Regions from separate parts of the Homo sapiens genome. Here regions 1 and 3 are each linked to region 2. Evidence: promoter capture Hi-C in 16 types of primary human blood cells and fetal thymus (Javierre and others, 2016). All regions are on one chromosome and are shown on one strand. The core of a region is centred on a gene start or on the middle of the fragment in contact, and the rest is flanking DNA. Distances in the headings are between cores, read along the strand shown.

The links. Contacts are between HindIII fragments. The CHiCAGO score rates a contact against its expected background, and 5 or more counts as called.
Region 1: a fragment that was not itself captured here is called in contact with the fragment with the promoter of ZNF207 in region 2 in 1 of 17 cell types (neutrophils); the score reaches 6.8 in neutrophils.
Region 3: a contact is called between a fragment that was not itself captured here and the fragment with the promoter of ZNF207 in region 2, in 1 of 17 cell types (neutrophils). The highest score is 6.2, in neutrophils.

The regions. Positions count from the first base shown.
Region 1 is chr17:28,673,258-28,677,014 of GRCh38, reverse strand. SUPT6H (SPT6 homolog, histone chaperone and transcription elongation factor) reads right to left here. Exons shown (of 37, transcript NM_003170.5): 2 at 3,505-3,644; 3 at 2,574-2,732; 4 at 2,402-2,478; 5 at 1,853-2,045; 6 at 1,530-1,614; 7 at 585-858. The coding sequence starts at 3,613. Among named protein-coding and RNA genes, the nearest start is that of SUPT6H, 13 kb to the right of the region's middle. The HindIII fragment of the contact is 1,912 bases long and covers 1,552-3,463 here.
Region 2 is chr17:32,348,208-32,351,920 of GRCh38, reverse strand. It overlaps ZNF207 (zinc finger protein 207), which reads right to left and starts at 1,764. Exons shown (of 12, transcript NM_001098507.2): 1 at 1,595-1,764; 2 at 9-135. The coding sequence starts at 1,635. It overlaps MIR632 (microRNA 632), which reads right to left and starts at 1,812; the gene lies at 1,719-1,812. It also overlaps a transcript of C17orf75 not described here. RefSeq lists enhancers at 1,675-2,024, 2,195-2,314. The HindIII fragment of the contact is 13,651 bases long and covers 1-3,713 here.
Region 3 is chr17:28,652,071-28,656,086 of GRCh38, reverse strand. SDF2 (stromal cell derived factor 2) reads left to right here. Exons shown (of 3, transcript NM_006923.4): 2 at 604-800. It also overlaps the pseudogene RPS12P28. Among named protein-coding and RNA genes, the nearest start is that of SDF2, 7.8 kb to the left of the region's middle. The HindIII fragment of the contact is 2,882 bases long and covers 541-3,422 here.

The DNA of each region.
Region 1 (3,757 bases), core at 1,258-3,757, 3.7 Mb after region 2:
TCAGGTGATCCACCCACCTTGGCCTTCCAAAGTGCTGGGATTACAGGTGTGAACCACCGTGCCTGGCCATAAGCATTTCATGGTTTTTTTTTTTTGAGACAGGGTCTGCTTCTAGGCTGCAGTGCAGTGGTGCAATGATGGCTCACTGCAGCCGTGACCTCCCAAGTTCAAGCAATCTTCCCACCTCAGCCTCCTGAGTGGCTGAAACTACAGGTGTGCACCATCACAACCAGCTAGTTTTTTGTATTTTTTGTAGAGACAAGATCTCCCTATGTTGCCCAGGCTGGTCTTGAGTTCCTGGACTCAAGCAATCTGCCACCCTGGCCTCCTAAAGTGCTGGGATTATAGGTGTGAGCCACAGCACCCAGACTGCATTTCACAGATTTCTAAAGAAAACAGTATTTCTAGAACCGTAAGCAAGGTAGAGTCTATCTTCCCTTCTCTAAGAGCTGGATTTCCCAGGCCCCAGGTGAGATGAGGTTCAAACCTGTGCTGGATACTCAATGCCAGACTTTTGCTAGAATATTTCTTGGCTACAAGGTAATTATGGATTGGTAGAAGAGCAGAGGCTGGTGGTTTTTTACCTGGAACCTCTCAGGCAGGTCAGTGGCTCGGATTTCATTGTCCTGATCTGTGAGGTGGCTGCTTTCTAGCTCACTGGGCTCATACATTTCAAAGATGCTCCTACGGCTCACACGCTTCTTGGTGGTCTTCTTGGGGCGCACTCGGATTTCACCCTCAGCCTCATCATCCTCATACTCATACTCTTCCTCCAGTTCTTCATCATACTCATTGTATTTCTCAAATTCATCATAGTCAAAGTCCACACCGAAGATTTCCTGGGCTTCTTGCAGGGCCCTGTAGGTGGCAGCAAGAGGCAGGTGGCTCAGGTTCAGGTGAGAGGAGAGAAATGCAGCCCTTGCATAGATCCTTTACTTGTCCCAAGGGAACTGAGAGGGTTAGGAGGAAGGTAAACAAAATAACCATATTCACTGTGGACGAAAGGCTTCATTGGCGGATATTTCTGGGCAAACTATTGTATATGGAAGATTAAAAAGCTCATCTTTGGCACCTTCGAGTGACAGTAATCAAATAGCAACAGAGCAGACGGGTCTATGTCTTGCTCAGTGGACCCATCTTCTGCTAAGGCATTACAGTATTCCCTCAGGGCAAAAGCTTTCAAATTTGTAAATTGTGATGCGGGCATTTGTCTTCCAACAAAAATATATTAAGAATGTCAATATATATATAATTGAATAAACATGGAGCTGTAGGCGGAAGAGGAATGCTGGAGCCTTGCCCATGTGGGACTCTACTCCAATCCCACAGTAGTCCTAGAGTGCAGAGACAGCTCCCAGGGCTTCCGGGAGCAGTCTGAAATCACTGCCTGGTAGAGGTTATTTGAGGCAGGGAAGCAAAATGGCTGCAAGCTGGGAATGCCCCATTTTTGGCAAAGGCCTCTGATCTCCTCCTTCCTGACTGGGCCCACTCAATCACTTTATCCCCACCTTGTACCAGACCCCACTCACGCGTCTGTGTATCCAGGAAGCTTTTTCCGCCACTTAGGTTTTTTCAGAGGCTGTCCATCATCATCCACAATGAAGTCGTCAATATCTGGGTAGGAAAAGGATGGGTTGGGGCTCAGAGTCAGGGGCTGAGCCAGGACTAAATTGCTTTGGTTCCTACTATGTGAGTGGCCAGTGAGCAACAGAGAAGGGAAGCTCCTGAAAAGGAACTTCTTTGTGTCAAATGCTGGGGGATGTAGCTAAAGAATGGTTTCCATCCTGTTCCCATGGGCCAGGAAATCCCAATACCCATCCAAACACTGGCTTCCCTGCCCAATATAACATACCTGACTCCTCATCATCTTCTTCCTCCTCCTCTGGAGGAGCCATGGGGGCCTCCATGGCCTCCTGCCCTTCTTCCCCTTCCCCATCCTGGAAGATTTCTTCCGCAATAGCTTCTTTTTCATGTTCCTCCTTGCCATATTCCTCCTCGTCATCGTCCTCGTCATCTGACATTTTTTTGACACGCCGGTACTTTTGCTAGGGGTGGGAAAACCTGCCTTATCAGGATCTGAGGAGTCTGGCATACGGATACCAAATCTCCAGTCTCACTCCCTTCTTCCCACCACAATTACTCTGACCAAGAGAGATGGGAAAGAACATGCCGAGTGATGCTCTTGTAGCCTCAAAGCCCATCCTTGAAACTTGGACAAGACTTTCTCTAACAGGCACCCAGATCTGGGATGCAAATCTAGGCTCCGTAGTACAATGATACCGAACACCGTGCTCTAATGTTCTCCAAACTGTCCTGCGTGTGCCTCCTCACCCACAGACATTGAAATTTCCAGGGCTTTTTCCTTTACCCCCAGGGACAAAAGACAAAGAATGACACTTACTCCTCTTTTGACTTTGACACCCAAATTCTCCTCAATGAGGTCAAAATCATCATCCTCCAGGCGGTCATCAAAAGAGGCTGAAGAAACAAAGTGTTGCCCATGGTGATGGGGTTGCCCTTTTCCACTGCAACCTCCACCCAAGCCTCACTTGAGCCAACGACAGACTACTCACTGCGTTTTCTCTTCTTGTGGCCAACATCATCTTCTGAATCACCAGAGTCACTGCCCTCATCCTCCTCCCCTTCATCTTCATCATCATCGTCATTGATAAAGCCTTTCAAGTTGCCTTGCTCATCCTGATCATCTAGGTTCTCCTCCTCCTCCTCCTCATCTGGAAGACATGCATGTTTGAGGCATGGAGACTGAAAAACAGGCTAGAGGTTCAGGGTCACTTGATTAATGTGATTATCCATTTGCTCTGCACCTAATGACCTGGGTGCCATGTTAACTCTTCTGCCTCATGTAAAGATGCAAAACATAGCCATTGACTTAGAGTAGCAGCATCTGGAAAGAATGTTTTCTTCCCCTACATTCACCATCTGTCTTTGGGCAGGATGATCTTCCCCGTCACTTTGGCTTCTCAAAATCATTACTAGATTATTATAGCCACCAATAACTTTGTTTTACTCAGTTTGTAAACTCAGCAGCTATATTCCTTTTTTTTGCCATAATTCCTTTGATAAAACTTGTACGTCCCTTTACCCCTTTGAAGTCATTTCGTGGTTCTACTCTGTTGACAATTCTAAAGATTGGGCTTGGCCAGAGAAATAGGAAACGAGGTGAATAAATATCAACAATGCTAGGTCTAAAAGCAGAAAGTATTATATACAGACTTATCTACTGATTTATTATCAACCACCCCCCAACTAAAGTAAACTCCACAATAGCTGGATATTTATTGTTTTATATTTCTAGTTCCAGGCCTAGTGCCTGGCATACAGACAGATGCTCAGTTAGTATCTGCTAAGAATGACTGAAAGTTCTCAAGCTGGTACCTCATGTGTGATAACTTCTGTGCTGAGCCTGAGCTTTTCATCAGCAAGAATCCAACTATCCAAAGCTTAGCAATAGTGGGGAGAAGCTTGAGGCTGGGGCCTCCTCACCATCATCCTCCTCTTCCACAAATTTCTTGGTGACTCGGGGTACCACCTCGCCTTCATCATTGTATTCTTCCTCTGACTCCTCAGCCTCGCTTTCCACAAAATCAGACATTGCTGCAGCTTCTCACTCTGCCTGAAGATAACTAGGGAAAGAAAAGAGTGAAGGATAAAAAAACGGACACATGATTGTACAGAGGGCTCTTAAACCTTCCCACAAACAGCCTTTTAGCAACCTGCCACTGCTCTGCCCACTCAA
Region 2 (3,713 bases), core at 515-3,014:
ATCCTTACCTGCATGCAATGAATAGCTAAGCCAGGTCCTGTATACAATTTCTTGTGACATATATGGCATTTAAAATGCTTTGCTTTTTGGTGCTGAATAAGGATCTTCTCATCATCAAAATCTCTATTACAATACCTGATCAATACTGTTAAGGCACAAAGACAGCCTAATGATGACACTGCCTATAATAAAAACATATGGATAACATTACAATATGGGAACAGCTAAAACCAAAATGGTACTGTATAGAAACTCTGCTTTTTATATTTATTACACAATTAGGGACTACACTTGCCATGTTATTTCAGTATTTTCAATTTCCTAGAAGGCCAGCTCTCTTCACCACCCCAAAAAACACATCTCAATAATCAGCAATATACTTTGTCAAATTCCTGTGTTTAACAGAGATGTCGGTGAAACTTTTGTTATAAATATTTCAACATTTACAAATGCACACTGAGGACAGGAAAGAGTTCAGTTAAGAAATCCCTAAGGTTCTGTCAAGACAATTACTTCACTAGATATGAAGACGATAGCAATAACTGGATTAGGAATTTAGCAATATTTAGAATCTAAGAGTAACTATATGGTGAACAATAATCACATAATTTCGAATGAACAATCCATAAAGTTGTTTCCAATTCCGTATGAATTTATGTTGCCAAGCAATGTATTTAAATTCACAGATCAATAAAATCAATAAAGCAGAATTCTTACATCAATAAAACAGAATTCTTACCTCACTACTCAGATTTTCCTAAAATCACATTACAAAATTCGTAACCGTATTTAAGCTATTTTTAAAACTGTTACATAAACGCAGTACTGTAACAAGCCGCCTTTACGTACAAAACAGTAAATAAAATCAATTTTAATGTAAAGAATATTAACGCTTCCAGAAAAAGCATTAATACCACACTGTAGTAAGAGTTTTCCTAATAAGATAGGCACTTTTTAGTCCTACAAAGTTGGGTAACAGAAACTCCGCCCTGTGAGAACGCTTCCTGAAGATTAAGGCGCCTCTGGGTGAGACACGGAAGCTAGTTCTCCTCCCGCCCCGAAAAGAAAAAAAAAAAAAAAAAGGTTCGAAACCAGGGTTGACTAACTTGGTTCTTTACTAAACCGCCAATTCGAAAAAATAAACACAAAACACACATAAAGTAAATAAAAACAGAAAAAGTGGGTGACAGACTGTGAAGCTGTCCCCAACCCTCCATGAAAGTAATAAGCCTATCGCACTCGAAGAAAAGTCCCTTGTTGAATCGTCACCAAAACAACGGAAGGTGGCTGAATAGTCCCTAGGGGACACTGTCCCTGGCGGAGGGGTCCAGGCCGCCTCCCGGAGTCCAAAATTCGCACCGAACAAGATCCTCCTGAGTCACAGAGTCACACGACCCACAACTGCAAAAGCCTGTCGACCTCGGAACCCCATTTTCCTAGAAGCCTTCCCAAGTCCAATCCCAGCCACCAGGCCACCCACGCAGACGCCTAAATACAAACGCTCCACGCCGTAAGCCAAATCCAGGCCTCCTAGTCCCAGGCCCCAACAACCGGCACCCCAACGCGACCTCGACTTCAAACCGACAAAGGATACCAGCACCACGGCTTCAGCTGCTTCTTCTTCTTGCGACCCATAACTGTGTTCTACCGGCAAAGTAAAAGGGAGGAGAAAAGAAGCAGGAGAAACGAGGCCAAAAATCCCTCACTTTCCCAACCCAACGGCTACCACCACGTCCCACAGGAAGCAGACACAAAATGGCCGACGGCCTCGTTCCCCGCTCCGCCTCCCGTCAAGCACTGCGGTAGGAGGCGGAGCCAAGAAGGGGAGGGTCACATGACGCAGACCTCCGCCCTGAGTGGGTGGGACTAAGAGGCGCGAAGAGGTGGCAGCCATCTTGTCCGTTTCAGAGTTTTTCGCTTTCGCTGGCTGTGCTTGCGGAGCACTTTGGGTTTCATTTGTAAAGGAGCCGGAGCCCCAGGTACGCTAAGGGGCATGCGAATGGAAAACAGAAAACAAAAAAACGGAAAAGATTGCCAGTGCAGTTAGGGCCGATCACAAATAAAGATAGAGACAGCGCCCAATTTTAATTTTGTTTCAATTGAACAGTAAATGTTGATTATGTGCCTATTAAATGCTAAACCAAATAAGTTAGTCTCTGCTTTGTAACTCGCAGATTGGTGACAGACGAGTACACAATGCAGAGTTCTCAGTGCGGCGTTGAGGGAAATGCGAAGTGCTGTAGGACCTCAGAGAGCGGGAGTCCTAGGGCGGCTGTAGTGGTAGTGGTCGTTGGGTTGTCAAGTAAAGTTTTGTTTTTCTTTGTTTTGTTTTATTTTTCTGAGACCAAGTCTCGCTCTGTCTCCCAGGCTGGAGTGCAGCGGCGCGATCTCTGCTCACTGCAACCTCCGTCTCCCGGGTTCAAGCGATTCTCCTACCTCAGCCTCCCGAGTAGCTGGGACTGCAGGCCCGCGCCACCAAGCCCGGCTAATTTTTGTATTTTTAGTAGAATGGGGTTTCACCATGTTAGCGAGGCTGGTCTCGAACTCCTGGGCTCAAGTGATCCGCCCGCCTCGGCCTCCCAAAGTGCTGGATTGCAGGCTTGAGCCGCTGCGCCCGACATAAGAAAGGTTTCTTGAGGAGTCAACGGGAGCAAGCAAGGTGAAGGAAAGGGTATCTCCGTAAGGGAGCAAAGAGTTTAAGTCTTTGAGGCTGGGCACGTGAAAAACTAATCGTGGTAAGACTGGAGCTGATAGCCGGGCGCGGTTGCTCACGCCAGTAATCCCAACACTATGGGCCAAGGCCGAGGCAGGCGGATCACTTGAGGTCAGGAGTTCGAGACCAGCCTGGCCGACATGGTGAAACCCTGTCTCTACTAAAAATACAAAAATTAGCCAGGCGTAGTGGCAGGCGCCTGTAACCTCAGCTACTCGGGAGAATGAGGCAGGAGAATCACTTGGACCTGGGAGGTGAAGGTTGCAGTGAGCCGAGATCTCGCCATTGCATTCCAGCCTGGGTGACAGAGTGAGACTCCGTCTCAAAAAAAAAAAAAAAAGACTGGAGCTGTCAGTGAAGGTGCTGGTCACAAGAGATAATCCTAGGGAGGCTAGCAAAGGCGGGTTCTGGCGAACCCTAGAAGCATTCTCAGAAGTTGGATTTCAGCTGAAGTCTCTGAGAAGGCACAGTGGTTCTAAGAGGGCAACTGGAGGATCATGCAAGTGAGAGGTGGTTAAAAGTCCAGTGCTTGGGTTCATAGTCCACCAGTGCCACTGCTTAGCTGCCTGACTTTGGGCAAGGCAGTTAAACTTCATCTTGGCTGCACTTAAAACAGAGCTTAGCATATAATAATAACTAGTAATGTAAATTATGTTACTATTAAAAGCAAAAAATAATAGCAGACATCCATGGAGCACCTACCGTGTGCCAAGCATTGTAGTGAGTTTTAACATTATTTGTCTCAGCCTCTGGGGTAGGAGCCATTATTGTCAACTTGTTAATAGAGATGAGATAAAAGAGACTTAAGAGAGCTGGAATAATTTGCCCCAAAACACAAAGTATGTGTGGAGCTGAATTAAATTTGAATTTTAAAGGATCAGTTTGGGCTGTGCGCAGTGGCTCACACCTGTAATCCCAGCACTGTGGGAGGCTGAGGCGGGTGGATCACCTGAGATCAGGAGTTGAAGACCAGCCTGGCCAACATGGTGAAACCCGGTCT
Region 3 (4,016 bases), core at 732-3,231, 3.7 Mb after region 2:
CCTGTTTAATGACACGGCACAATATTGGCCATAGGCAAGAAGGGTGAGGCTGAGCTCACTTGCTGTTTTTTTTTTTGAGGAATGGGTACCAAATTTATTTGTTAATTTCTTGCATTTGAAGTACACAGTCACATCCTTGGCCTGAAATTCTTTGCTGTAGCCCTTCACTGTGACACAACTGCAACCAACCACTTTACAAAGTTTTCCTTGTCTATCAGTTTTACAAAGGCTTAGCCATGTCTCTGGTTTCTTAAGGTCATCAACCTTAATTGGGTTGATTTGGTGTTCGGCACAAAGGGCCACCCCTAGCTTGACATACATAGGCTCTTCACATTTGGATGCAAGCACGCAAAGATGGGCTTGGCCCTTGTCTAAGGCTTTGGCAGCTTTGCAGGTTCCACCTGCTAGGCCATCATGGCTGAGGGCGGTCTTCAGTCTCTTGTAGAGCAGTATTAATATCCATTACACCTCCAGCAGCGTGTCTTCCTTGGTCATGGTGGTGGGTTACAGGTGAAGGTGAATCTTGAGCGCACTCAAGCTTCTGTCTCTGAGCATGTTGTCCATGGCAGAGAAAGAGAGTTGCCTTTCTTTTCTTAACTGCAGGTAGTGGGCAGCAGTCAGTGACAGGTGTAACCTCTGTGGATGACAGCAACAGTTACTGGAGGATACGGGGGAAGAGTGCCACAGTGTGTGAGAGGGGAACCCCCATCAAGTGTGGCCAGCCCATCCGGCTGACACATGTCAACACTGGCCGAAACCTCCATAGTCACCACTTCACTTCACCTCTTTCTGGAAACCAGGTGAGGTGGCTTTCGATGGATTGTTGCTGCTCTGCATTACTCAGTGGGTGCTTGTTTGATCTCTTGGTTCTTAAATGTTTCTTTTCTAGGTGTAGATGTTCTCTTTTGTGCAGACCTGGGGAAATGGCTCTATTTTTGTGTGGGTTTTTGTTGTTTTTGAGACGCAGTCTCACTCTGTCACCCAGGCTGCAGTGCAGTGGCATGATCTTGGCTCACTGCAACCTCCGCCTCTGGGTTCAAGCAAGTCTCCTGCCTCAGTCTCCCAAGTAGCTGGGATTACAGGCGCATGCCACCATGCCTGGCTAATTTTTGTTTTTATTTTTATTTTTTTGAGATGGAGTCTCACTCTGTCACCCAGGCTGGAGTGCAATGGCATGGTCTCAGCTCATTGCAACCTCTGCCTCCTGCGTTCAAGCGGTTCTCCCACCTCAGCTGCCCGAGTGGCTGGGACTACAGGCGTGTGCCACCACACCTGGCTAATTTTTTTTTTTGTATTTTTAGTAGAGATGGGGTTTCACTGTGTTGGCCAGGCTGGTCTCGAACTCCTGACCTTGTGATCTGCCCACTTCGGCCTCCCAAAGTGCTGGGATTACAAGTGCAAGTCACCGCGCCTGGCCTGATTTTTGTATTTTTAGTAGAGATGGGTTTTCACCATATTGGTCAGGCTGGTCTCGAACTCCTGACCTCAGGTGATCCACCCGCCTCTGCCTCCTGGAAGTGTTGGGATTATAGGCATGAGCCACTGCACCCAGCCGGCTTTGTTTTATAAGTGTGAAGAAAATTGTTTCTGGTCAAAGTGGAGACAACAACTAAACCAAATCAAGAAATGGGAAGGACAGACAGACTGGGTATACATCAGCATATCATAAGTTCTGATATTCTGCAATAAAGAAACCCAATGTTTTCCAACTTGCAGTGTTTTTTTTTTTTTTAATGATGCTAACTAGTTACATTAGGAAAATAGATTTGCTTTTGTGTCACTGTTTTTTGTTTTTAAACAGGGTCTTGCTCTGTCACCCAGGTTGTAGTGTGATCTTGCTCACTGCAGCCTCAGCCTCCTGGGCTCAAGCAATTCTCCCACCTCAGCCCTCACTACAGGCTCACGCCACCATGCCTGGCTAATTTTTGTATTTTTTTTGGTAGATACGGGGTTTTGCCATGTTGCCTAGGCTGGTCTCAAACTCCTGAGCTCAAGCTATCTGCCTGCCTCAGCCTCCCAAAGTGCTGGGATTACAAGCATAAGCCAGTACACCCAGCCTTGTGCCACTGTTTTAAGCCTTGAGTTGTCAGGGGATGTGGACACCTTAATGACTCCTTCCCTGTCCCCAGCCCCTGTATGCAGTTTTCCCTATTAATATCTTACCTTCGAAGGGTAAATTTGCTATATTTAATGAAGCAATATTGATACAGTTTTATTAACTAAAGACCATAGTTTTTTTCTGATTCCCTTGTTTTGTTTTGTTTTGTTTTGTTTTTTGAGACAGAGTCTCGCTCTGTCCCAGGCTGGAGTGCTATGGCGCGATCTCAGCTCACTGCAACCTCCGCCTCCCAGGTTCAAGCTATTCTCTTGCCACAGCCTCCTGAGTAGCTGGGATTACAGGTGCCTGCCACCACGCCCGGCTGATTTTTGTATTTTCAGTAGAGACGGGGTTTCACCATGTTGTCCAGGTTGGTCTCGAGCTCCTGACCTTGTGATCCACCCACCTTGGCCTCCCAAACTGCTGGGATTACAGGCGTGAGGCCTCCGTGCCCGGTCCCTTAGTTTTTACCTAATGTTCTTTTTCCATTCCAAAATACCACATTACATATACTTGCCATGTCTCATTAGGCTGTTCTTGGCTGTGACAGTTTTTCAGGCTTCCCTAGTTTTTGATGACCTTGACAGCTTTGAGGAGTGCTGGTCAGGTGTATTGTAGATTGCCCCTCTGTTGGAATTTGTTTTTCTTGTGATTAGACCGGACTTATAAAGGGTTTGGGAGGAAGATCACAGAGGTAAAGTGCCATTTGTATCCCATCATATCAGGGGTACATACTATCTTTATGATTTATGACTGTTGATGTGGACCTTGATTACCTGGCTGAAGTAGTGTTTGTTCGTTAGGTTTCTCCTGTAAAGTTATTCTTTTCATTTTCCCCCTTTCCATGCACTTTTTGGAAGAAAGTCACTATGTGCATTTCACTCTTACAGACTGGAGAGTTATACTCTGTCTACATTAGGGTGGAATATCTACATATTTTATTTGGGATTTTTCCATATTGGGGATTTGTCTCTTTTCCCCAATTTATTTATTTATTCAGTTATTTACATTAGTATAAACTTATGGATAGTTTATACTTCGTTATAATCTAATGCTACTATATTTTGTTGCTCAAATTGTTCCAACTTTGGCCATTGGGAATTCTTTCAGCTGGCTTTGTGTCCATTGGCAGTATCCCATTGTGTTTTTGTGTATATGTGCCTGCACTTTAAAGCACTTCTTTCCTTTCTGGCACCAAAAGATGCTCCAGGCTCATCTTGTTTATTTCTTGCTCCAGTACTAGAATCAGCTGTTTCTCCAAGGAGCTCTGCTTCCTTTTATTGGAGAATGATATTAAAACCAAGTTCTAGGCCTTATGTAAGCTTGTTGCTACTGGAGTGTTTCTTTTAGGCCCTCTCACTTGACAGAATAAATAACTGTAAGCCAGGCGCAGTGGCTCACACCTATAATCCCGGCACTTTGTGAGGCAGAGGTGGGTGGATCACAAGGTCAGGAGTTCGAGACCAGCCTGGCTAACATGGTGAAACCCCGTATCTACTAAAGTACAAAAATTAGCTGGGCATGGTGGCGGGAGCCTGTGATCCCAGCTACTTGGGAGGCCGAGGTAGGAGAATCGTTTGAACCTGGGAGGCGGAGGTTGCAGTGAGCCGAGATTGCACCATTGCATTCCAGCCTGGGTGACAGGGCGAGACTCTGTCTCAAAAAAAAATTAAAAAAATAAAGAATTGTTACCTGTGTGTGCTTACTCGTGTATATATTACATATCTATAAATTTTTATTTGCATAGCCATCTGTATCTACATATATTAAGTTAAATGAGCTTTCTTTTTCTTTTTCTTTTTTTTTTAAGATGGGTTCTTGCTGTGTTATTCAGGCTGGAGTGCAGTGGCTACTCACAGGTGTGATGATAGTGCACTAGAGCCTCGAACTCCTTGGCTCAAGCAGTCCTCTTGCGTCA